2 separate regions of the Homo sapiens genome follow, and region 2 is linked to region 1. The links are contacts of gene promoters, found by promoter capture Hi-C in blood cells and fetal thymus (Javierre and others, 2016). All regions are on one chromosome and are shown on one strand. Each heading gives the region's core, a stretch centred on a gene start or on the middle of the fragment in contact. The rest is flanking DNA. Distances are from core to core; before and after follow the strand shown. Region 1 holds the start of PDE2A (phosphodiesterase 2A). Region 2 has its middle 7.6 kb from the start of CLPB.

Region 1 (6,141 bases), core at 3,604-6,103:
CGGCCACCACCCTGGAGGCCACAATCCTGTGTCTCAGAAAAGCTGGGGCGCTCCAAGGAGCAGACAAGGCTGTTCCGGCTGTCCTGGAGGCTGGGGCAGAGGGGGTAGGAGGCCGGCATAATAAGGGGTGATGGCTCATTTCTTCCAACCAAAGCTGCCAAGCCCTAGCCAGCTGATTTGCATATTGCTTTGTATTTGTTTGCACGCCACTTTCTGGAAGGGGCCCACATTCTTCAGCCACTGCTTCTCTCTCATTTCCAGGGTCTCTTTTGTTCACTGAACACCCCTTTCTCAAGCAAGGCTGGGTCCCTCAGCAAGCTCTGGTCACGAGCACCAGGAGAGACCAAGAAGTTGCAAACTTACAATAATGCCTACACATCAAGCCTGTTGGAGACACCTTCACGGAAGAAAGTGCTTCCTACAGTCTAGGCTCAATTCCCCACTCCTCTCCTGCTCCACCACGGCCCAGGGCTTCCCCCCAGCCTGGCACTTCATGCCTAGGCCACTCTGAACTCCTATAGTGCTAAGTGAACAAAATCCTGCTTGCCCTTACCTTGAGGCCTTTGCAAATGCTCTTCCATCTTCCTAGTGCTGTCCCTCAACTCAGCCTGAAGTGGCTCTTCCTTATAAGGCCAGCCCCAATGGCCCCTCCTCCTAAATACCTTCCTGCGACATTAACACAGGTAGGAAAGACTCGGAGCTTCCATCCACGTGGTCACTGGCTCTGTCCATCTGCCCCCAGGGGTGTCATGTTTGGTAGGGCCAGTGAACGGCTGCTGAATGAATGAATGATGAGTCCTGATCTCCCTCCTCTGTTCCCTCTCCCTGGATGACTTCACTCACTCACCTATGGGAGAGTCAGAGGCTGACAGTGCCTCTGCCTCCAATTCCCCCTCTTGTCCTCTGAGACCCTCCCTTTCACACGTACAGCCCACTCTCATAAAACCAAGAGACTCACAGCCCTTCTGCATTGGTAGGAAGTTCTTCCTGCTGTCTGTCCTCACTCCCTTATTTGACCATGCCTGCTTCTTTATCATTATTTTTGGAGAGGAGTCAGGGCCTGCACCCATCTCAGATTTTTGTTAATAAAGGCTGCGCATTTCTCCCACTCTCTGCCTAGATGTGTTCTTGCCACTCCTGGATCATTGTGCCCCAGCCTGGCCCTACTTCAGGGGACAGTGACACAGGACGGAGAAAGGACATAAGGCCAGGCTGGGTAGCCTGGAGTTGCTGGGCCCTGCGGAGAAGACCCAGGACAGATATAACCACCACAAGGGAAGGGCTGCCCAGGAGGGAAGAGATGAACATCCTATGTCCGGGGGTATACAAACAGCAGGCTGGATAGATCTGCAGGGCAAGTTGTAGAGAGTACTAAAACAACTGCTAGAAAATGACCCAAACGCCCTTACTGTCTTCTCCCACCCAGAGGCTGCACTGAGTCAGGTGCCTAGCCCTGTGCCTTTCCTACCCACCTTCACAAACTGTTCCCTCTGCTCTTCCCTGCCTGGGTGATTCCTACCCATCCTTCAAGGTCCGGCTCAAATGTCTCTTCCTCTGAAGCCCAGGCTTGCTGTGGGCCCCCCACCTCCTACACAGCACTGCTCACCCTGTAGGGTTGCAGCTTTCCATTTCTTTCTCCTTCATCAGACTGGGCACTCCCTGAGAACAGGGACTCAGTCAGTGTCTGCTCTGTGTCCCCGGTGACAAGCCAAGTGGGCACCAAGCAGCTACTGAGAAGTTCCTGTTGAGTGGTTGAATGAATGAATGCAGCAATGGAATCATGCTGAGTCGGGAGATTTCATAGGCCCAAGCAGCAGAAGCCCGGGGAGCGCAGGCCTGGCCTGACAGCAGCATGGCTGAGGGTGAGACTCCCAGTCCATTAAGACCAAGGGGTAAAGGACTGCTGGGAGCTCTTCCCCCCACCCCCGCCCCCACCCCCCACCATTTGGCTAGATCCCAGCCAAGCCATCAGCAGTCCCTGGGGACAGGAGGCTGGAGTGGGAAGCAGGAAGAGTGGCAGGAGCTGCTTGGTGGGCAGGGGGAATGACTGCGGGGGGTGGGGGTGCAGGGAGCATAAAGACAATTAACCCTCACTGAGCTGACCAAGCTCAGCAACCAAGAGGTTCCGGGCAGGGCCTGAAGGAGAATGATATTGAGGGTCAGGTCTGATGAAGAGGTTGAGCCCCAGCCTTGCAGCCAAAGGGTAGTGATGAAGCCATAGTCTCAGTTTCCCTGTCTGGCAAGAGATGGCTCCATGATCTCTGACCCTCTGCATCCTAGCTAGAAACACTACAAAGATCTCTCCCACTACCTCAGCCCACCCACGCCCAGCTTTCCTGAGCCTTCCATGAGCCTTTTCCCTCATGAGATCCTGACTTACTGAGATGTCTGCACTACACCCCTGACCCCAGTCCAAGCCTGAGCCACCTAGACATTCCCTTCCCTGTTCTCATCTATCCAGCCTTTCCCAAGTTCTCAAAAAGCTCCAGAACTCACTGACCCCTGTATTGGCTTGGCCTCCACTCTAGCCTCCTGGCCCCACCTCTCTCTTCCAGTTCAACCCAGACAATGCCACCGAGGCAGGTTTCTTTATTTTTCTTCTTCTTTTTTTTTTTCTTCTTTTGAGACAGAGTCTCACTTTGTCACCCCCAGGCTAAAGTGCAGTAAGGCAATCTCAGCTCACTGCAACCTCCACCTCCCAAGTTCAAGCGATTCTCATATTCTCATGCCTCAGCCTTCTAAGTAGCTGGGACTACAGGCGTGTGCCACCACACCCAGCTAATTTTATTGTATTTCTAATAGACACTGGGTTTCACCATGTTGGCCAGTCTCGTCTCAAACTCCTGGCCTCAAGTGATCCACCTGCTTCTGCCTCCCAAAGTGATGGGATTACAGGCATGAGCCACCATGCCTGGCCCAGGGCAGGTTTCTAGAACCCAAATCTGATCATGTCTCTCCCCTATATAAAACCTTTCTGGGCTCCCCAGGGCTCTCTGGATAAAGCCTAAGAGTCCTGGATCTTAAAGTTCTATTGAATGTGGGTCCTGCCTGCCCCCCACTCTATACAGTGTCTTCACTGCTCCAGGACATGCCCAGCCCAGGGCCTTTGCTTATGCAGTTCCCACCCCACCCCCACCTGTTAGCATGACGTTGATCTCTACTGCTTAATTATTCTCAAGCTATTTTATGTCTAAGAAGCTTAGGAAGCCCCAGAGGGCAGAGTCATTATTGCCTATTTCTTTTCTGCATCTTTCCCACAGGGTGTAGAATGAATTGTCCTGAGTTCAAAGAGGCGGTCATACATTCAGCCCCTCCCTGCCCTGCATCAGTGGGCCATGGTGTCCCAGCTGTATCCTCAATTGCCAGGGGAAGGAAACAGCCACCCACACACACTCAGATGAATACACACATATAGATACACACACACACCAGCCACAGAAGCACCGATATACACACTAGCACCATGATCACACACCCACACCAGAATACTTATACGCACACAGCCACATCCACCTCCACACACAGCAATGCTATTATTCACACACTAACAAATACACACACATAAATGCACATGGAACAGATAAAAAATGCACACTGATTCACTCTATTTTGCAGACACAACACACATAATATACAAACTCAACCTAATAGACACACCTACATACATATGCAGACCAACCTGCACTCACACTCAGACACATGCGAATAAACTCTCACTCACACAGGGATGATCACAAACTCTGACAGGCTGCTTTACATCCAACCACCAAGGACCCTAGAGCTCTACAGGCCCCTCTACACCCAACATGTCCCTTACATTCCACATGTATACACACACACACACACACACATACCCTGCCTACCACCTCGGCAGCCCTTAGTAGAGGGGTGTCGCCACGGCGCCCCCCACTCACTTGCACATGCACCCCCCTGCACGTGGACACACACGAGGCTGGCACCATATTCCATCTGGCTCCGTAGAACCCTATCCTGGGACAGACGCTTTGGGGTAAAGTTTCATAAAGTGGTGTCCCTGAACCCCAATTCCCAATTCCATGGAAGGTGGTTACCTCTAACCCTCTCTTGCTCCAGGGCCACTCTTATTCATATTTTCTCCATCTTTCCCCCTCCCCACCTCCTTCACACACACATAGCCTTGGTGGGCCAAGACACTCTCCCTCTCCGGGTCCTGAACCAGCCTATTGCAGCCCCGAGAGCTCCTCCCAACTACTTGGCAGACCTCCCCCTCCCCACATACACCCTCAGCCCTTGAAGAACCGGTTCAGGTTCATTATCAGCCCCTCCTCCAACCAGCAGCCCCTTCCATGGGACCCCAGCCTCATCACCTACTAGGTTGACGTTAGACACCCTCATTCTGCTCAGAGGTAACCTGCCCCCACCCCAGGCTGCAGTCTGGCAACGCGGGGAGGAGGGGTGCCCAGGAACAGGATCGATCCTTCCACGTGGCTCAGCTCCATGCCAACCCCAGCTCCTTGGAGGGACTCCCAGGACCCTGTCTGTGGCACCTCTCACAGCCGCTCACCACCCCAGCCCCTCACTATACTCACGGCTCAGCCGGTCGCGCTGCCGGGTACTGCTGGCTCCTGCAGAGGATGGAGTGGCCGCATGCCTGCCCCATCACTCCTCATCGTCCGCCTCCCCAGCCAGACTAAGGTGGCACCTCGCCCTGTCCCCGCTGCCTGGAGTTCAGGGCAGGGCACCCCCAGCAGGCACAGGGACCAAGAGCAGTGGGCTGCCCCCTACTCAGCCTGGACTCAACACCCCAATCCAGCTCTGCTGCCCCGCTGCTCCCGCCTCTCCCGCTGCCACTGCCTCTGCTGCTCGGCTGGCTCTGGGAGGAGGTTGGAGCAGGTCTGATAATGCAGAAGGGGGAGGGAGGAGGGAGGAGGAACAGAGAGAGGCCCAGACAGAGAGGGAGAGAGGGAGAGAGGGAGGGGTAGAGAGAGAGTCTGACTGGGAGAGAGGAAAAAAGACTCACAGACAGAGAGACTGAGAGATAAACAGAGACAGGAAGGGGGACAGTAACACATGAAGAGGGAGAGGAGAGAGGGATCAGAGCCTTAGCGAGATCAAGATGGAAGTACAAAGAGACCAGAGAGGCATAGAGAAACACACACACAGAGGAACAAAGGCAGAAAAGGAAAAAAAATCAGAGGCAGAAATAGAAAGAGAGTGGGGTAGGGGGAAAGGGGAGTGGCTGACAGAGGAGAGAGGGGAGAGGACGAGGGATTTACAATCCTCATGGGCTAGGATGGGGCTGGGGACTTGAGGGGCAGCAGACCCAGACCCTCTGCTGCCCCATCGCAGAAGCCTTCAGGATGAGGGGACACGCTTGTGCCCTCAAGTCTGAGAGATCAGGCCTCCATGCACAGCTAGCTGCCCTCTCCTCTGGGCTCCCTCACCCGGTGTGTATCATCTCCTAGCGTGCATCCCAGCCTGGAGCTGGGTCCACGGAAGACTTAGGGGGCTTTACTGATGGCCTTTGGACTCAGAGCCTTGTCACAGGGCCCACCTCTTGGTGGCTTGGTTTAGCTGGGACTTGGAGCTGATGCGTGAGCATGGACTTCTACCAGGATCTGTGGAGACCTAGGCCACAGCCTGCCCCACATGGCCTTCGCTGCTCACAGACTACAGGCATGGGGGAAGGCCTGTTGCACCCCCACCCTGCTTCCAAAGAGGACTCCCTAGGATAAAGCTATAACCTAGTGAAATAGAGGCATTTTAGGCCCTAGGACAGATAGAGAGTTGTCACAGCAGAGCTACTATTGTATGCAGGAGAAACAGCTCCACACCTTGAGGCAGGAAATGGGGATTTGGATCCTGGCTTCACCATTAACTTACTTATTCATTGGCCTACCAGTGGCTGAGCTCATGGCTCACACTATCCCTTGTCTCAGAGAAGCACTCGGGCTGGGGAGTGGGGAGGGGAGACTTGCAGGCTGTGACAGAAAGAAGCACAGGGTCTGTGAAGCCCAGAGGGACCCCTGACCTAGTTTGGGTGGTGGGGGGGCGGTTAGCAAGCATTTCTGGAAGAGAGGGTCCAAGCTGGGTCTTTTAAGGCAGAAGAGGGTATATTCCAGGGTAGAGGAGCTACAGCAAACCCTCCACAGCAACCCCATC
Region 2 (5,820 bases), core at 2,366-4,865, 230 kb before region 1:
GCCTGATTGGTCTCAATTGGTTATTGACCATATGGTTTTGCCACGTTGGCCAGGCTGGTCACAAACTCCTGACCTCAAATGATCTGCCTGTCTCAGCCTCCCAAAGTGCTAGGATTACAGGTTAGAGCCACCATGCCCAGCTGTAAAACTCATGGTTTTTAAAAATAGATACAGACAGATCAATACAGAAATATAAATATGTAAGTATGTATGGGTTCGTGTATTACATATATTACCTAGCCTCTGGGAGGGTCTAGAAGCAATTACACCCTAAAAATTGAACACACCTAACACCCAGACATAAACAGCATTCTCCAATAACCCAGAAACCAGTTACCCTTGGAGAATGGTTGTTTTCAGGACTGGGCAGAGAAAATCCAAAATGAGTCAACAACATCGTATGTGCCAGGAAGTTAGGAAAGGCTCAAAACCAGATGCAGGCTTGTGAAAAGAACACAGGAGCCAGTGTGAAGGAGTTCATAATGACCTAAGTAGGAACAATTTAACTGAAAAGTAATGACCATATGGGGTTTTGATCCACAGAGTAAAACAAATATGATATAAATAATCAAATAAATAAATAGATAAATAGGGGAGGAATGAGGGAAGAGGCAGCTTTCTTTCTTTCTTTTTTTTTGAGACGGAGTCTCGCTCTGTTGCCCAGGCTGGAGTGCAGTGGCGCGATCTCGGCTCACTGAAAGCTCTGCCTCCCGGGTTCACACCATTCTCCTGCCTCAGCCTCCAGCTGGGACTACAGGCGCCCGCCACCATGCCCGGCTAATTTTTTTTTTTGTTGTATTTTTAGTAGAGACGGGGTTTCACTGTGTTAGCCAGGATGGTCTCGATCTCCTGACCTTGTCATCTGCCCGCCTCGGCCTCCCAAAGTGCTGGGATTATAGGCGTGAACCACCACGCCTGGCCCGAGGCAGCTCTTTCTTACAGTGGAAGTTCAATCAATAAATGTAGAAGAAAGAGAGAAATAGAGAATTACCACTAGGCAGACACTGGAGTAATACAAATTTCAGGCTGGGCACAGTGACTCATGTAGTGACTAATGCCTGTAATCCCAGCACTTTGTGAGGCCAAGGCAGTAGGAGGATCACTCGAGGCCAGGAGTTTGAGACCAGCCTGGGCGACAAAGTGAGACCCTGTCTATACAAAAATATAAAATAAAAAAATTAGCAGAGCAGGGTGGCACACACCTGTTGTCCCAGCTACTTGGGAGGCCGAGGCGGAAGGATTGCTTGAGGCGAGGAGGTCAAGGCTGCAGCAAGCCTTCATCGCACCACAGTGCTCCAGCCTGGGTGACAGAGCAAGACCCTGTCTCTAAAAACATAAATAAAAATAAACATTTCAGGCAAGATCCATAGATGATACTAAAATTAGTGGGTGACAAGGAGGAGAAACAGAATTTATATAGTCTCAAAAGTACTTCCTGCAGCCGGGCACGGTGGCTCACGCCTGTAATCCCAGCACTTTGGGAGGCTGAGGCAGGTGGATCACAAGGTCAGGAGTTCAAGACCAGCCTGGCCAAGATGGTAAAACCCTGTCTCTACTAAAAATACAAAAATTAGCCAGGCGTGCTGGCAGGCGCCTGTAATCCCAGCTACTCGGAAGGCTGAGGCAGGAGAATCACTTGAACCCGGGGGGTGGAGGTTGCAGTGAGCCGAGATTGCGCCACTGCACTCCAGCCTGGGCAACAGAGTGAGACTTCCTCTCAAAAAAAAAAGTACTTCCTGCAAGATAATTATGAACTACAAAAACTTTACAGTGGGGAAAACCTGGCAGACACCAATTTAACTACATGATCAAAGGTAAATATCACCAGTAATAAGACATATACACAACAGACAAAATGAATCCCTTGATATGATGCACTGGGAAGAACACATCGTTTTTGTTCATTCTCATCAAGCATATATAACCTCATTCCAAACATGAGAAAACATCAGACAAACACATATTGAGGGATATTCTACAGATAACTGATTTATATTATTATTTGTATTAGTTTTCTATTGCTGCAAAACAAAGCACCATAAACTGAGCAGCTTAAAACAATTGCCATCTAATATCTCACAGTTTCTATGGGTCTGGAGTCTAGCATATTCTAACTATGCTCTGCTCTGGGTCTGAAATCAAGGTGTCGGCCAGCTGCATTCACATCTGGAGGCTCAATTAGGGAAAGGTAGTTTTTCTTTTTGTTTTTTGAGATGGAGTTTCACTCTTGTTGTCCAGGCTGGAGTGCAGTGGTGCAATCTGAGCTCACTGCAACCTCCACCTCCCAGGTTCAAATGATTCTGCTACCTCAGCTTCCCAAGTAGCTGGGATTACAGGTGCACGCCACCACACCCAGCTAATGTTTTTGTATTTTTAGTAGAGACAGGGTTTCACCATGTTGGACAGGTTGGTCTCGAACTTCTGACCTCAGGTGATCCACCCATCTTGGCCTCCCACAGTGCTGGGATTACAGGCATAAGCCACCATGCCCACCAGGCAAAGGTAGTTTTTCAAGCTGCCTTACACTGTTGGTTGAAATCATTTCCTAGCAGCTGTGGGACTGAGGCTGTATTGCTAGCCAGCAGCAGCTGAGAACCTCTCAGCTCCTGGAAAAAACTCTTGGGTCTTTGCCATGTAACCACTTCCTTAGATTCTCTCATACTTGCAAGCAAGCTTCTCTGACTTCAGGAAGGGCCTGGTTATTTTAAAGGGCTCACCTGATTAGATCAGGCCCACCCAGATAATCTCTCTTTTGATAAGTCAAAGTGAACCGATAAGTAATGTTATCACAGGAGTGATATCCCATCACATTCACAGGTTCTGCCTGTACTCAAGAGTGTATACAAGGTATGTACATTCAGCGGTGGAAACCTTAGGGATCATCTTAGAATTCTGCCTGTCACAGTACTCTGCAAAAGTGTCAAGGTCACGAAAGATAAGGAAAGACTGAGAAGCTGTTACAGACTGGGGATTGAGAAGAAATAAATACTAAATGCACTGTGTAATCATGGATAGGACCAGGGAACAGAAAAGGGACATTAGTGGGAAAATTGATGAATTTCAAATAAATTCTAAGGTTTAGTTAATGATATTGTATAAATGTTAATTTCCTGTTCTTGATCATTGTATTATGGTTATATAAGATGTTCACATTGGGGAAGTGGAGTGGAGGATATAAGAGAACTCTTTGGGCTGTGCATGGCGGCTCATGCCTATAATCCCAGCACTTTGGGAGGCCGAGGCCGGCGGATCACAAGGTCAGGAGATGGAGACCATCCTGGCTAACACAGTGAAACCCCCTCTCTACTAAAAAATACAAAAAATTAGCCGGGCATGGTGGTGGGCGCCTGTAGTCCCAGCTACTCGGGAGACTGAGGCAAGAGAATTGCTTGAACTGGGAGGCGGAGGTTGCAGTGAGCCGAGATCGTGCCACTATACTCCAGCCTGGGCGACAGAGCAAGACTCCGTCTCAAAAAAAAAAAAAAAGAATTCACTTTCTGCTGATCCTGCTGCATATTGCCATAGCACTGTCTTCAGGTCCACTCTTCTACAATTCTTCTTTGGAATAACTAAGACAAAATGATTTATTATTAATAATAACAGGAAGTTTTATTAAGTATTTTCTATGTTCCAGCCACTGTGCTGAGTAAGTGAACCACATCAATTATCTATATAAATGATCAGGTAAGTTTCTCCCAGGTTTGGTAGGCATGTTTTCCATGTGATCTCTCCAGTCAATGAAGGCACAATCCCTCAGTGATAGCAGGTAAACCACATCTGAGAAATCTTGGAGAAACTCATCTAAGCATTTTTCAAAAATAGAAGTTAACAGCTACTGAATATTGAGCATGTATTCTGAGTCTGGCATTGTGCTAATAAGCACTTTACATGAATAAACTCAATCCCTACATTAACACAAGTTAGAGACTAGTAGCATCACAGGCTTATGTTGAGTCAGAGCCCAAAGTCTTAGCCATTACACAACTTTTCCTAACGAAGGAACTTGTGTGTGTGTGTGTGTGTATGTGTGTGTGTAAAGTCTTCTGCATTACTTTTTCTCAAAAATATTGAACACTTTCCTTATTCACAAATAGAAGATAGTAAATACAATTTAATCTTTTCCTGATAAAGGTTATTGCTATCCTGATTTTTGTATCACATGATAGATGTAGAACTCTTAAGCACTAACTCAAATCATGCTCTGAAAATAAACAAATCTCTTAATTGCCTCCTTTTCTTGTCATCTGTTTCTTTCCCATAGAATCAAAGTGTAGCATGTGGCCTCTGGGCAGGGTAATATGTCCTCTTATTACATTAAAGATGAGAATTTAGTTTGTGATAAATCTGGCACTTTACGTAAGTGGGGAAAATATTAATTATTTAATAAACAGTGTTGGGACAACTAGGTGGCCAACTGGGGAAAAAATAAATTAGATTTGTCTCACCCCTTCACCAAAATAAATGCCAACTGAATCAAAAGACTTAAATGTGAAAAAGAAACAATAAACATGCCAGTAAGAAAACATGAAGTGATTTTTCAAAATAACTTTGGAGTAGGGAAGCTTTCTAAGCACGACACAAAATTCAGACCCACAATAGCAAAGACTGATGTATTTGACTCTACAAGTAATTATTCTGATTGAAAAATACCATGAACAGTAAAAAATGTAAATGATAATCTCGGAAGAATATATTCACACCACAATGATGGAGGGTTAAGTAATACAGAGAACTCTTATAAAATATGAAAAAGACCTACAATGCAGTAAGTGAACAAAGACAATGCCTCTGCTAGCTTATGCAGTGCCTCTGGGAAAAGTAAAGAAAGCAGCCATCTCAGGATGAATTAGAAAAAGGGGCCCCTAAGCAGTGTACATGTCCCAGGGAGCAGCATGCTGCCAGACTGCAGCCTCCACTTCTCCTATTGGTTTAGGCTTTTGAGTGGCACACGAACTGCATATCCAAACACAGCTGCCTGGGCAAAGGACTTGACCAAAGACCTCATGAGAAATGAAATATAAATCATATTTAAATATATGAAAATATGCTCAATACACCCATGACAAGAAACATACAAATTAAAACTATAGTGATCCATATCTTACAGCATATACAAAAATGAACTCAAAATGAATTATTGTCCTAAATGTAAAACCTAAGACTCCAAAATTTCTTGAAGAAAACATAGGAGAAAATCTTTGTGGCTTTGGATAAAGCAGATTTCTTAGATACAACATGAAAAACACAATGCATAAAAGAAAAAAAAAAAGATCAATTTGACTTCATCAACATTAGGAACTTTTGCTCCTCAAAAGCCACTGTTAAGAGAATGGATAAGCTGCAGAGTGGAGAAAATATTTGTAATTATACATCCAGTAAGGAACTTACATCAGAATATGAAAAGAATTCTCAAAACTCAATGATAAGAAAACCACCCAATTTTTATGTTGGAAAAAAGATTTGGAGAGATAACTTCTTACTGTCAAATAAGAACGCTAAAAAACACCCTCAATATCATTGCTCTTTAGAGAAATAAAAATTAAAACCATGAATTATATATGTATTAAAATGTCTAAGATTAAAAAGACTGGCCGTACCACATGACGATGTGGAGCAACTGGAACTCTCATATACTGCTGAAGGGGAATGTGAAATGGTACAACCACTTTTGAAAACAATTTGGCAGTTTCTTTAGAGGTTAAACAAGCATGTACCATATGATCCAGTCATTCCAACTTTTAGATTTATTATCCAAGGAAAACAAAAACATATGCTCACACAAAGACTTGTACATGAATGTTCATAGCAACTTTGTAAAAG

Evidence for each region. Contacts are between HindIII fragments. The CHiCAGO score rates a contact against its expected background, and 5 or more counts as called.
Region 2: a contact is called between a fragment that was not itself captured here and the fragment with the promoter of PDE2A in region 1, in 1 of 17 cell types (endothelial precursors). The highest score is 6.5, in endothelial precursors.

The regions. Positions count from the first base shown.
Region 1 is chr11:72,669,569-72,675,709 of GRCh38, forward strand. It overlaps PDE2A (phosphodiesterase 2A), which reads right to left and starts at 4,854. Exons shown (of 31, transcript NM_002599.5): 1 at 4,569-4,854. The coding sequence starts at 4,639. PDE2A-AS1 (PDE2A antisense RNA 1) reads left to right here. Exons shown (of 3, transcript XR_001748293.2): 3 at 262-348. RefSeq lists enhancers at 3,423-4,049, 4,050-4,675, 4,676-5,302, 5,303-5,927, 6,078-6,141. The HindIII fragment of the contact is 6,386 bases long and covers 3,197-6,141 here.
Region 2 is chr11:72,439,244-72,445,063 of GRCh38, forward strand. No RefSeq gene overlaps it. Among named protein-coding and RNA genes, the nearest start is that of CLPB, 7.6 kb to the left of the region's middle. The HindIII fragment of the contact is 1,889 bases long and covers 2,672-4,560 here.